Linked DNA regions of Homo sapiens: region 2 is linked to region 1. Evidence: promoter capture Hi-C in 16 types of primary human blood cells and fetal thymus (Javierre and others, 2016). All regions are on one chromosome and are shown on one strand. The core of a region is centred on a gene start or on the middle of the fragment in contact, and the rest is flanking DNA. Distances in the headings are between cores, read along the strand shown.

Region 1 (5,812 bases), core at 2,434-4,933:
TTTATAAGGGTTGGGATGGTCCATGAGTGAACAGTCTTGATTTAAAGCAGTGTTTCCCAAACCTCATTTATTTGCCTATAGCCTTCCTGGAGTTTGTCTTATATGTCCGCTCTGTGCACTATTCCTATATGTTTTTATGTAAATCAATCACTTTTTTAAAAAGCCTCATCCCAGTTATATCCTTAAAACAATGGTTATTTTTTCTCATACACATCGAAATACATATCTATTAGAATTAAAATGCTTGTCCATGCACTATCAATAATCTCCTCAAGTACCATATGGTGGGGACATGTGTTTGAAGTGTTAGGAGTCAGGAGTGGTCTCTGTAAGACAGAGTAAGTCAGTCAACCTCTGAGCACTGCCAGCCACACATGCTGGCAGAGAAGTTCAGCCTGTGACAAGACTGCCCGGATATTTCCATGTCTGTGCACGGGGATGTCCTCGGTCTGCCATTGTGAAGTCTGTGCTGTTTTCATGCCTACCTAGTCTTCTTTGGAGGGGCCTGGAAAGCAAATGCAGGCTGGGTACAGTGGCTCATGCCTGTAATCCCAGCACTTTGGGAGGCAAAGGTGGGCAGATCACGAGGTCAGGAGTTTGAGACCAGCCTGACCAACATAGTGAAACCTTGTCTCTACTAAAATTGCAAAAATTAGCTGGGTGTGGTGGTACGTGGCTGTAATCCCAGCTACCCGGGAGGCTGAGGCAGGATAATTGCTTGAACCCAGGAGGCGGAGGTTGCAGTAAGCCCAGATGGCACCACTGCACTCCAGCCTGGGTGACAGAGACTCCATCTCAAAAAAAAAAAAAAAAAGAAAAAAAAGCAAATGCAGATTCTCCCTGGGAAACGGGGGGTTGGGAGAGTGGAGTAGTGTGGATGCATTGTTATTCCTGAAGGCCGTCCTCAAATTATCTTGGACTCACTGCAGCAAGCAGATGCCTCATCTTCTGGCCAGGGATTGATCCTGAGATGGGAAGAGTATGAGAAGAGACACCAACAGCAAGGCAAAACTGGCTCTGGCAGCTTGCTTCAGAGAAAGAGTATAGCTTTGGAGTCAGGCCGACCTGAGTATGAATCCAAGACTCAGCACTTACTAGGTGCCTGCCCTCAAACCATTATTTTTTGATAGTCATTACATACCCACAATGATCACCATGGAGTGGATGAGGAAACAGGGACTCAGAGAAGTTAAACAACTTGCCTGATATCACACAGGTAACAAACAGCAGAGCAGAATTCAAACCTAAGTTGATTTGACTTCCAAATGTGTGCTCCTAACCAAAGCAGGGTAACCTGCTTTGATTTGCCCATTTCTTGAGCACCTCTTCTGTAGGAGGGCCTGTTGCTGGGTGCTGGGAATTCAGTGGTAGGCAAGATGGACAAGATTCCCCCCTCTCACAGACCTTGCTTGCTATAGGGGAAATAGACAGGAAACCAATTACTACATTTGTAACTTAATAACAAGTGTCATAAGTGTTACAAAGGAGATAGATACTATAAGGCACCTTTTATTTTTATTTGTTTATTTATTTTTTGAGACTCACTCGCTCTGTTGCCCAGGCTGGGGTACAGTGGTGCGGTCTCGGCTCACTGCAACCTCTGCCTCCCAGGTTCAAGCGATTCTCCTGCCTCAGCCTCCCGAGTAGCTGGGATTACAGGTGTGAACCACCACACTCTGCTAATTTTTGTATTTTTAGTAGAGACAGGGTTTCACCATGTTGGCCAGGCTGTTGTTGAACTCCTGACCTCAAGTGATTGATCCACATTGACCTCCCAAAGTGCTGTGATTACAGGCGTTAGCCACCGCGCCTGGCCTATAAGGCACCCTTGGTCAGCCAGTGGAAGCAGGGTCAGTAGTGCGCCGGAGAGTCACTTTGAAAAAGTGATATTTAGGTTGATCTTGAAGCATTCACAAGATGTGGTAAACACATCTAATGGTAAACATGTGATGGTAAACATTAGATGTGATAAAGATACTGATGGTCCACTGGATGAACAGTTTTCATATTTACTTCCAAATGATTTCATAGATATTATTTCACAGATAACACTTAGGATGAAGGTAAATAAAAAGGAGATCAATTAAAATATGAAATAATAATAGTGAAAGTGGTAATAGATGTGGCAATATCCACAAAGGAGTAATGGTTAGATTAGCATATTGAGAAGATCACTTTGGCAATTGTTGGAATGCAGTTTACGAGAGGGCCAAGAATGGAAGCAGCAATCCCTGTTAGAAGTGTAGTGTTTTGGAGTGCGGTGTTTTTTGTTGGTTTGTTTTTTGTTTTTTTTAAACCAGGTCTCACTCTGTTGCCCAGGCTGGAGTGCAGTGCAGCCTCGACCTCCTCCTCGGGCTCAGGTGATCCTCCCACCTCAGCCTCCCGAGTAGCCGGGACTACAGGCACATGCCACCACACCCCGCCAGTTTTTGTATTTTTTTGTAGAGTCAGGGTTCTGCCATGTTGCCCAGGCTGGTCTTGAACTCCTGGGTTCAAGTGATCTGCCAGCCTCGGCCTCCCAAAGTGCTAAGATTACAAGTGTGAGACACCACCCCCAGCCAGCACATTGTATTAATCCAAGCAGGAGAACGCAGACTTCAAAGGCTTATGGGCAGCAGAGAGAAGTAGATGAAGCAAAGAGATGCAATCAGCGGGACTAGTGGGAAATGAGGGAAAGGAAGGTGTCAGGATGGGGCTTTTTCTAGCTGAGTGGAGTTCAGTTCATTCCCAGAGAAGCTTGAGAGGTATCCAACTATAGATGCAAGGTAGCTGGCTGTTGGTCCCTTGTCTTTAGGACAGTTTGACTTTTGTAATACAGGCGACCTCACAGAGCTATTGTGAGAATTCAGAGCTGGGCACAGAATAGATGCTCTATAAACGGTAGTTCTATTCCCCATTTGCCCCGTCCTCCCAGCATGCCAGGGATACAGGGGCGGATAGAGACAGGTTCAGTTCCCTTTGGTCTCTTGCATTCCCCCTTCCCTCAGCACAATTCCTGGGCTCATAGCGGATGCTCAATAAGTATTTGTAGAATGAACCAAAGAAATCAGACCCTTGGTGACCCAGGGCTACATGTACTCGGCGGAAAACTGGGGTTAAACCGGACCCTTGGTTGGTTGAAAAATTAAAATAATTTTTAAAAAGTGGGCGTGAAATAATCCAGAAGTTGGAGGGCCTGGACAAAGGCTGGGGAGGGGACTCCTCCCACCAGGCGGCCTCAGGGTCGGCTTAGCAAGAAAGGAGGCGCTGGGGAGACCTCTGGGGTCCCAGCTGCCAAGGTACTCGCCGCTCCAAGGAGATGCGGACGCCGGATACCAGCTCTGCCCAAGATTGCTGGGTCCCGCCGCGGCCTTTAAAGGCCCACCACGTGGCTGCGCGGCCAGCCCTGGTCCGGAGGCGGTGCCCGGGTGGCGCCTGCGCACTGCCTAGCAGAGGGGCTGGGGTTCCGAGAAAAAGCGTCTGGAGAGGAAGGGGAGGCTGCTTGGGGTGGGACGCCGTGGGAGGAGTCGGCTCCTTATGCAAATCACAGCGGAGCGCGCACGGTCCGGAGGCGGGGCTTGCGATGCAAAGACAGGTCCGTCTGGCGAACAGCGAGGGGGCGGGCCGCAACCCTCTGCCTCTTTCCGCGAGCGCTGACGTCGCCGACGTGTTGTTTAAAAGCGGCCGCGCAGGCGCAGTGAGCCCAAATGCGAACTTAGGCTGTTACACAACTGCTGGGGTCTGTTCTCGCCGCCCGCCCGGCAGTCAGGCAGCGTCGCCGCCGTGGTAGCAGCCTCAGCCGTTTCTGGAGTCTCGGGCCCACAGTCACCGCCGCTTACCTGCGCCTCCTCGAGCCTCCGGAGTCCCCGTCCGCCCGCACAGGCCGGTTCGCCGTCTGCGTCTCCCCCACGCCGCCTCGCCTGCCGCCGCGCTCGTCCCTCCGGGCCGACATGAGTGGGGACCACCTCCACAACGATTCCCAGGTACGGCCCGGCCTGACCCTGGCGGCCCCGGACCCCGGCCTGGCCGTCCCGCGACCCCCGGCGCAGGCCCCGACCCCAGCCCCGGCCCGGCAGCTTTGACAGGCCGGAGCCCCCGGTGAGGGGCCGCCTGCCGGAGTAGATCGGCTCGCTAGGCCGCGAGCGAGGGCCGCGAAGTTACAGTTCGAGGCAGGGATGGCTGCCCTCTGTGGCCACCCCCGGGTCCCCGTCCTCCCCGGGGGCGCAGGGTGAGCCAGACCCCGGCCGCGCGCGCTCGCCGCCGGAGGGGTTAAAGTGGCTGTTGTTTGATATTCTCTCCTTTTCTTTTTCCAGATCGAAGCGGATTTCCGATTGAATGGTGAGTGTGCCCCCTGCGCCGACTCCGGGGCCCCCCAGCCGCCGGCCGCCTCCCCCGCGCCCTGCCGGTGCCGGGCAGAGGACAGACATGGCGTCCCAGAGACTAAGTCCCGGCTCCTCGCTCACCGGCCCCATTGTTCCCATCGGGCCGCCTCTTGACCCCCTTTCCGGGGACCCCAGCTCCTCCAGATCCCGGCCCTCCCAAGAGGGGACAACGGAGACCCCGTGTCGTCCGCCACCGGGCCTCGGGCGGTCTTTCCGGGCCGGGATTCCTCCCGGGAAAGTCGCCTTGTCGACGGTCGGGACTTAGTCTCTGCGCCATTTTCTTTTTCTCTCTCCTCTCCTTTCTGTGCCTGTGTCTCTTTCTCTCCCTCCCTCGGCTCTTTCCTTGAGCTGCCCAGAATGAGCTTTCTGCAGAGCAAAGCCGTATAAATCACATACTTCACCAGAGAGGGAAGGCTGGGGGACTGAATTATTATTTTTTAAACTTTATTTTGGGGGTTATTCCCTTTATGCTTCATGTTTGTTTCCTTTTCTGCTTCCAGAATGAAAGATTTCCTTAAGCAACTGTTAATTTTTTTTTTGATAGGCTGTTTATGATAGGAATTATGGCTCTAAAACTAAAGCCACGCTTTGTGGAGTTCTTTATATTTCCAGGTTGTTTTTCCCAAGTTACGTTCTTTGCAAAGGTAGCAGTACCTCCCTAAAGAAAGTTTGCAAGTTCTCTGTGGGTCACCCAATGTAAATGTTGGATTTTTAAAAAATTATGTTAGTCACTGGAACTTTTCATTGTGGTCGAGGTTCCCAATGCAGTGTTTTTCTGGAAACGCAGTTTAGTGTACTTGTTGGAAGGAAAGATTGTTGAGCATCTCTTGTGGACCTGGTGTGTTGGCCTTTTCGTTTGGGTTGTAAGGAGGAAAAAAAGATTTTATTTATTGAAGCAAAGAGTGTCCAGTACCCACCCCTGCTTCCTGTTCATTCTTTTTCACGAGCCACTGTTTTTCAGGAATCAAGAACTGGCTTTTTTTTTTTTTCCCAATTCTTTATGTTTTTGAACCCTTTTCAGCCAAATCAAGGCATTTATTCTTACTGTATTTCCACTTCAGTTACCCAGGGAAGAGTCCTCCAATAAAAAGCTCATCCTTGCAGGCTTTCGAACAACCCTGTTGAAGGAGAAGTTACCTTCTGTAGTGTGCTGGGAATTCCCACTGATTTTGATGGTACATAATCCTGCTCAATTGAGTTTGGGTTCCGGGAACCTCTCCAATGGGAGAAGTTGATGAGTAGGTTTTCTAATGTTGTAATCAGCAGTCCATCATGTTAGCCTGCTCTACTGAGAGCAACCTTATGTTCAGAGTTTGAAGTGGGGCATCCAGCAGGAGATGGTACTCAGCCAGGAGAGAATCTGGTTTAAAGTATGGCATTTCTTGAGCACCAGATATGTGCCAACCACTGTGCTTGGTGCTAGAGCTGATCCTGTAACCATAACACTCCCT
Region 2 (5,812 bases), core at 1,227-3,726, 2.0 Mb before region 1:
AAAGATGGAGGCATAGAGAGGTTAGGTAACTCATTCACAGTTGCACAGCCAGAATTGTTGGCTCTGGATTCACAGTCCAGAGCCCCACACCTTAACCATTGAACTACCAACTTCTAGTTTCTGTCAGGGAAATTGTCATTCAGACTGCTCTGCTAGAAACCTTGGTGGGCACATTAGTGACATAAGAAGTCAGGTGCCAGGGTATAGCAGGCTGATTCTGGGCACCACACGACATCATGGTCATGTTGCAGGTGGGCCATTATAAGCTAGAGAGATCCAATCCCCACCTAAGGTGCAGGCATCAGCAATGACTAATTGAGTGAACACTGGAAAGACGGAAGGACAAGTTTTGATACTGAAGAGATAGATACTCAGAAGTAAGGTGTGTTGATAGAGGTAGGTCAGAGATGAGTTCAAAGTCAGTTCCTGTTTGAAAGTCAGAGAATTAGCAGCCTTATGCATGGAGGGGCTGAATTTGTATGTGTAATGAGGAGGAGAGAGACTTTCTTAGGGATTGTTGGGATCCTCCTTGTCAGTTGTATAACTATAGATTACAAAGTTTTTCTGCCTCTGTGCCCAGATGCTTATGTCTGTTTTTGTTTAGTTTTGTTTTTAATTAACCTGGAGGAGGAGAGAGACAAGAACACTAACATTTTATCAAATTTCTTTGCCAGATACCTTGTAATAAATTATCTTAATCCACAGCAATCTTGATAGGTTTAGTTTCCTGATTTTACAGATAAGGAAATCAAGGCTGAGAGAGGTTAAGTAACCAAGCTGAGTTCTTTCAAGATATGGCAGAGCTAGAATGCTGCAAACTAGGTCTTTCTGAATCCATAACCCACACGCTATTCACCATGCAATATTACTTCCAGTGCAAAAGTCAATTTCTTTCTTTCTTTCTTTTTTTCTTTTTTGAGACAGGGTCTCGCCCTGTTGCCTTGGTTGGAGCGCAGTGGTGCAAACATGGCTCCTGGGCTCAAGCGATCCTTCCACCTCAGCCTAGTAGCTGGGGCTTAGAGGCATACACCACCATGCCCTGCTGATTTTTTTTTTTAGCTTTTGTAGACATGGGGTTTACCTATGTTGCCCAGGCTGGTCTCGAACTTCTGGGTTCAGGCAATCCTCCCACCTTAGCCTCACCAAATGCTGGGATTATAGGTGTGAGCCACCACACCCAGCAAAGAGTGAAATTCTGAATGTTGCTTCATTCTTTCCAGATTCGAGTGCACCGTAAATTTGCTGTGGAGGAGGGCGACCACCTCACTATGCTCAATATATATGAAGCATTTATCAAAGTAAGCACAACTACTGCTCGAAGTGCCGCCTCAACACACCACCCTCTGGAGGTGATCTAGGAGGGAGGATCCCAGAAGTTCAGTTCGTAAAGGAATGTCCAAGAGAGCCCTTGATTTTCCTGTTAGATTTATTGCCAGTACTTCTAACTGGTGGGTCGGGCTTTCTGCCTGAGTTTGTGGTGAGGTATTGCTGAGAAGAACACAGGAATCATTCATTGCTTTCCCTTGCTTGGAGATATGGTACACTAGTGGCAGGCCAGTGGCCCAGCCTCACGTCATCTCACATCCACTGTGCAGTAGACAGAAAGGCAACATTTGAATAGGAAGTTCTGTTACATTTTCTGCCAGGTGAATGAGGCTGAGAGCAACTTGTAGTCCTGGGTTGAATCTTCAAAGCTGTCCCAGCTGCCATGAGAAGACATTTAGTTGAGATCTGTGCATATTCACATATCCCACCCATATTTAGCTATAAGTGATGTTAATTTTTTATTGTTAATATTCTTTAAAACTAAGCAAATAATACAGCTTAAAGTTCTCATGAAAAATTGTTAATAAAGGTGATGAAAATGATGAAAAAAGTAACCTTACATAAAAGAAAGGGTATAATACTTCAGATTTTTAATACTCATTTCTTAAATACTCTTTTAGAAGTGAAGAAATACTAAATTTTTGTTTACCAGTGATTTGAGGAAGATTATTCAGTTGGTGAAAAGTTTTCAGAAAAAAGAAATTCACTCTTTTTGAGACTTACGGCTTAAATCAGTTAAAATTCATTTGTACAGGCACAATGTATCATCTGCAGTCTGAAGCTTTCTCTACCACTAGAAAGTGGGTATAGGTCTACATTGTATTATTCTATGGTTGCCTTCTTGGAATATCTTCTATTAATTACATTTTCTTTTTTAAAGCACTTTAACTTACAATAGAATTTCAGAGGTACATTTCCACAGCAATAATTTACTCTAAGACATAATGATCATACTTATGAATGCAGAAAAAATTAAATACTGTTGATAGAAAAATCATGCTTTGGGGACAAATAATAGTAATTTGTAAATTATTTCTACATTGGCAAGTGTCATATTGTTGGCTTCTAGTATAATAAAGTGATACATTCAAGCATGCCAAAGAAGAAAAGTTGATTTACAAAGAACCACGTGGAGAAATGGTTCTTTCTGATAGTTCACATCTCATGAAGGTATGTAAGATTGAAACCGTTTCTGCGTGTCATTAAGTTCTCATTTGCCCTTTAGTGTAAAGAGTGAGGTTGCAGAGCAGTCAGATGTGTGCAAGGTTGTTAACATCTGTTTTGAGAGATGGGGCAAAAAAGGGCCAGTTCCCATCTTTAGATCTTATGCCGTTGAACAGCACATGGGGGAAGAGAGAAGAATGATCTTTACAACATAGCCTTAGTCGAGAACATATCTGTTTTCTAACTCCCTCTCTCTGGGTTGTTCTGTAGCACAATAAGGACTCTAAATGGTGTCAGGAACATTTCCTGAATTACAAGGGTCTTGTCAGAGCTGCGACTGTAAGAGAACAATTGAAAAAGCTTCTTGTCAAGTTTCAAGTGCCCAGGAAGTCTAGTGAAGGTGAGAAGAAACCGTCCCAGCTGGTGACCTCCCTTGCTTCATTCTGTTGAGTTGTCTTCCTAAAGTTCTCATGCTGGGCTGGTGCGAGGCAGTGTGGCGTGCTCTGTACCAACACTGGGTTTTATATTTTGAGTTGCCTGCATCTGTGAAAAGCTGAAGGTCAAGTTGCGTATTTTTTCCAAGGAGGTCTATTTTTCTTTCTGATGGGCATTCTTACTAAAGGAATTTCATAGCCCATGACAATACTTAAGAATCACTAACAGTCACATCAGTGCACATCATGTCATTGATTTTCCCATGTAGGCTTTGCAAGAAAAATTACTTTTTGATCAGTGATATTAGTAGCTATTACATAAAAATTAAATTTTATATTCAAAGACAAGTATTATTAAAGCAAGTGCTGGATATTTAGCCTAGGCAGCCACTAAAGGTAAGACAGAAAAGTACTATGTAAGACGTAGTCTCTGGCCTCTAGCAGTGACAGTGACTACTATTAATCAGGGACACAGTAGGTTACGCTGTGGCAGGGGTTCTCCAAATATTCTCTTGCTCAATCTCGCACTCTGTGAGGTGTCGGTAATGTTATCCTCATTTTACAATTAGTCGTAAGATCCTAGGGAGAAGGTAGATTAAATTCAGGACCACGCAACTGGTAAGGAGGAGAGCCAGATCTGTATGTGGCTCAGAAGTCTACGCTTTTAAGGAAGTGACACACCCGCCTCAGCAGTCAGCCTGAAAGCCTAGTGTGCCAGGTACTCAGCCACATCCTCAGCACCATTAGTACTTGGTAACATTTCCTGAGTGCTTATAAGTGGCTAGACAGTGCACTGAGTGTTCCATGTGTTTATTAATTTAATGCTCACAACAACGCTGTGAAACGTGTGCTCTTTTCCCCATCTTATAGGTGAGAAAAGCGTGGCTAAGAGGTAAAATGTAACTTGCTGAAGTTACACAGTGAGGGTATGATGGAGTCAGAACCTGAGCCCAGGCGGTTCCATTTAAGTCTTCTTTTGTCTTTATACTAAGAGCAAGTGATTAAACAATGACGGAGTCTTGGCTTTTACTCTAAGGGAACAGTGTAATGAAGGGAGAGATTCATATGGATAGACAAAGTACTAAGATTATCAGTCCTCTTCGAAGTTAAAGTAGTAGATACTTTAGTAATCATAGAAGACGTGCTGGCAGATGTGGAAGGAATGCCGGGAAGAAGGAATCCAGAGAGGGCTAGCTTGGGAAGTCTTTCAGCTTCCTTGAGGTGTGGTGGGAGTCCGGTCAAGCTTTGGGGTCTGGTTGAATTAGAAAATGGTGGCAAAGAGCACTCTAGGGAAGGAGGACTGGAGACAAGTGCTTGGAGTGAGGAGTATATGAGACGCTCAGAGAATATTTGATGGGTGAATACACTCACGAGAGAGGGAAGAGTTGAAACCTGGGCCATTGAGCCATGTTGGAGTCATTGATAGAAACAGGATGCTTACAAGGAGCACCTAGTTGGAGAGCAGCTCGTCAAACGCCTGTCACCCAGCAGGTAGATGACAGCCTTACTTCAGCAATTGGTGTTCTTCACCTGTGTTTCATTATCAGACCCCTGCCCAGGAGAAAAGTTAAATTTAAATTCTACCCAGCCTGAGAAATTAAATACTAAGGAATAAGATTTTGTAGGGTAGGATTGAGCTTTGGAGGGCTACCGGCCATTGTAGTGTCTAAGATGCTCCCCTCCCCCTGCCTCCAAGAACCAGTTTCCACCCCTTTGGAAGTGATATCACCCCTGTTTAGAGTGCATATTTTACATGGAAATTTCTTATGGACAATAGGAGAGAAGAGACTGGATATCGGATTAGATCATATTTAGACATGTAGATTTGAGATTTTATCAGCTCAGTGCTTAGGAAAAATACAGAAAATCATGGAGACTAAATAAATTACATGCAAATTTAAAACATCTAAGGGTTAAAAAATAGAAAGCAATTAGTGAAAGATACTTTCAGCAGTCATGAGATAAATGATAAAGATTAAAAACTTTATTATAGAATGATTTTATTTAATATATTTAGGAAAAAACAGTTTTCAGGTTGATAAATGGGCTAAGGATTAGAACAAAAAATTCACAAAAGAAGAAATATGCCGATAGTAATCAAATAAATGTAATATAAAAGAAGGTAACAGAAGGTAACACTTTTTGCCAAAACATTGCTAGTAAGAATGCAGTGAAACTGCCATTTTTATATATTGTTGATGGCTTTGGAAATAGTACCACCTTTATGGAACTTACTTACCAACATGCTTTATTCCATTGGATCTAAGATACCATCATGTGTAAGAAACATCGTTATTTTATGTGTCACCAAAGAAAAAAAATGCTGCCAGTTATCATTGTAAAATGCTGTCCTAATTTCAGTGAATTAAAGTTAGAAAAAGAGCGAGTCTTAAAATTGATGAGATGTGATATGTCATTAACCATAAAAATAACATTAGCCTTTTGCACAACAATTTGGAATGTATCCTATGGACATCATCTAATAGTGGGGAAGCTTTATTCATGGAAGATGTTAGCTGTAGCAATAGAAACACCAGTTAAAATGGAACATTTGAAAAATTTGAAGAATTACTTCAATTTTCAAACACTAGCTCATAACCACAGAAGTAACGTTGTATACTATCTCCAGTTTGTGTTTTATAGAAAGAACATTGTTGCCATATGACACTCTTTTACAAAGGAGTTCTGAGGTCACTGACCAGCCTGCAGAGCAGCACTCTTAGGTTCTGGTGCCCAGCCATGGTCCAGTCATCTGTGGCTTAGGGGAGGTTGGAGGGGTCCCAGGTTCAAGGAGCAGACCAGCATTGTTGTCAGCAGCAGTTGTGGGGAGTGGGACCTCCTTAGATGGTGCTGGGGCAGGCATCCAGCATTGGGAAGGGTAGGGCTGG

The links. The method cuts DNA at HindIII sites, captures the fragments that hold promoters and counts their contacts. A CHiCAGO score of 5 or more calls a contact.
Region 2: a fragment that was not itself captured here is called in contact with the fragment with the promoter of TOP1 in region 1 in 1 of 17 cell types (endothelial precursors); the score reaches 5.8 in endothelial precursors.

The regions. Positions count from the first base shown.
Region 1 is chr20:41,025,139-41,030,950 of GRCh38, forward strand. TOP1 (DNA topoisomerase I) reads left to right here and starts at 3,684. Exons shown (of 21, transcript NM_003286.4): 1 at 3,684-3,962; 2 at 4,293-4,317. The coding sequence starts at 3,930. LOC100128988 (a long non-coding RNA gene) reads left to right here. Exons shown (of 3, transcript NR_145525.1): 3 at 1-258. RefSeq lists silencers at 3,383-3,734, 3,955-4,024. The HindIII fragment of the contact is 6,355 bases long and covers 2,735-5,812 here.
Region 2 is chr20:39,022,470-39,028,281 of GRCh38, forward strand. DHX35 (DEAH-box helicase 35) reads left to right here. Exons shown (of 22, transcript NM_021931.4): 17 at 1,221-1,298; 18 at 2,761-2,890. Among named protein-coding and RNA genes, the nearest start is that of DHX35, 63 kb to the left of the region's middle. The HindIII fragment of the contact is 743 bases long and covers 2,106-2,848 here.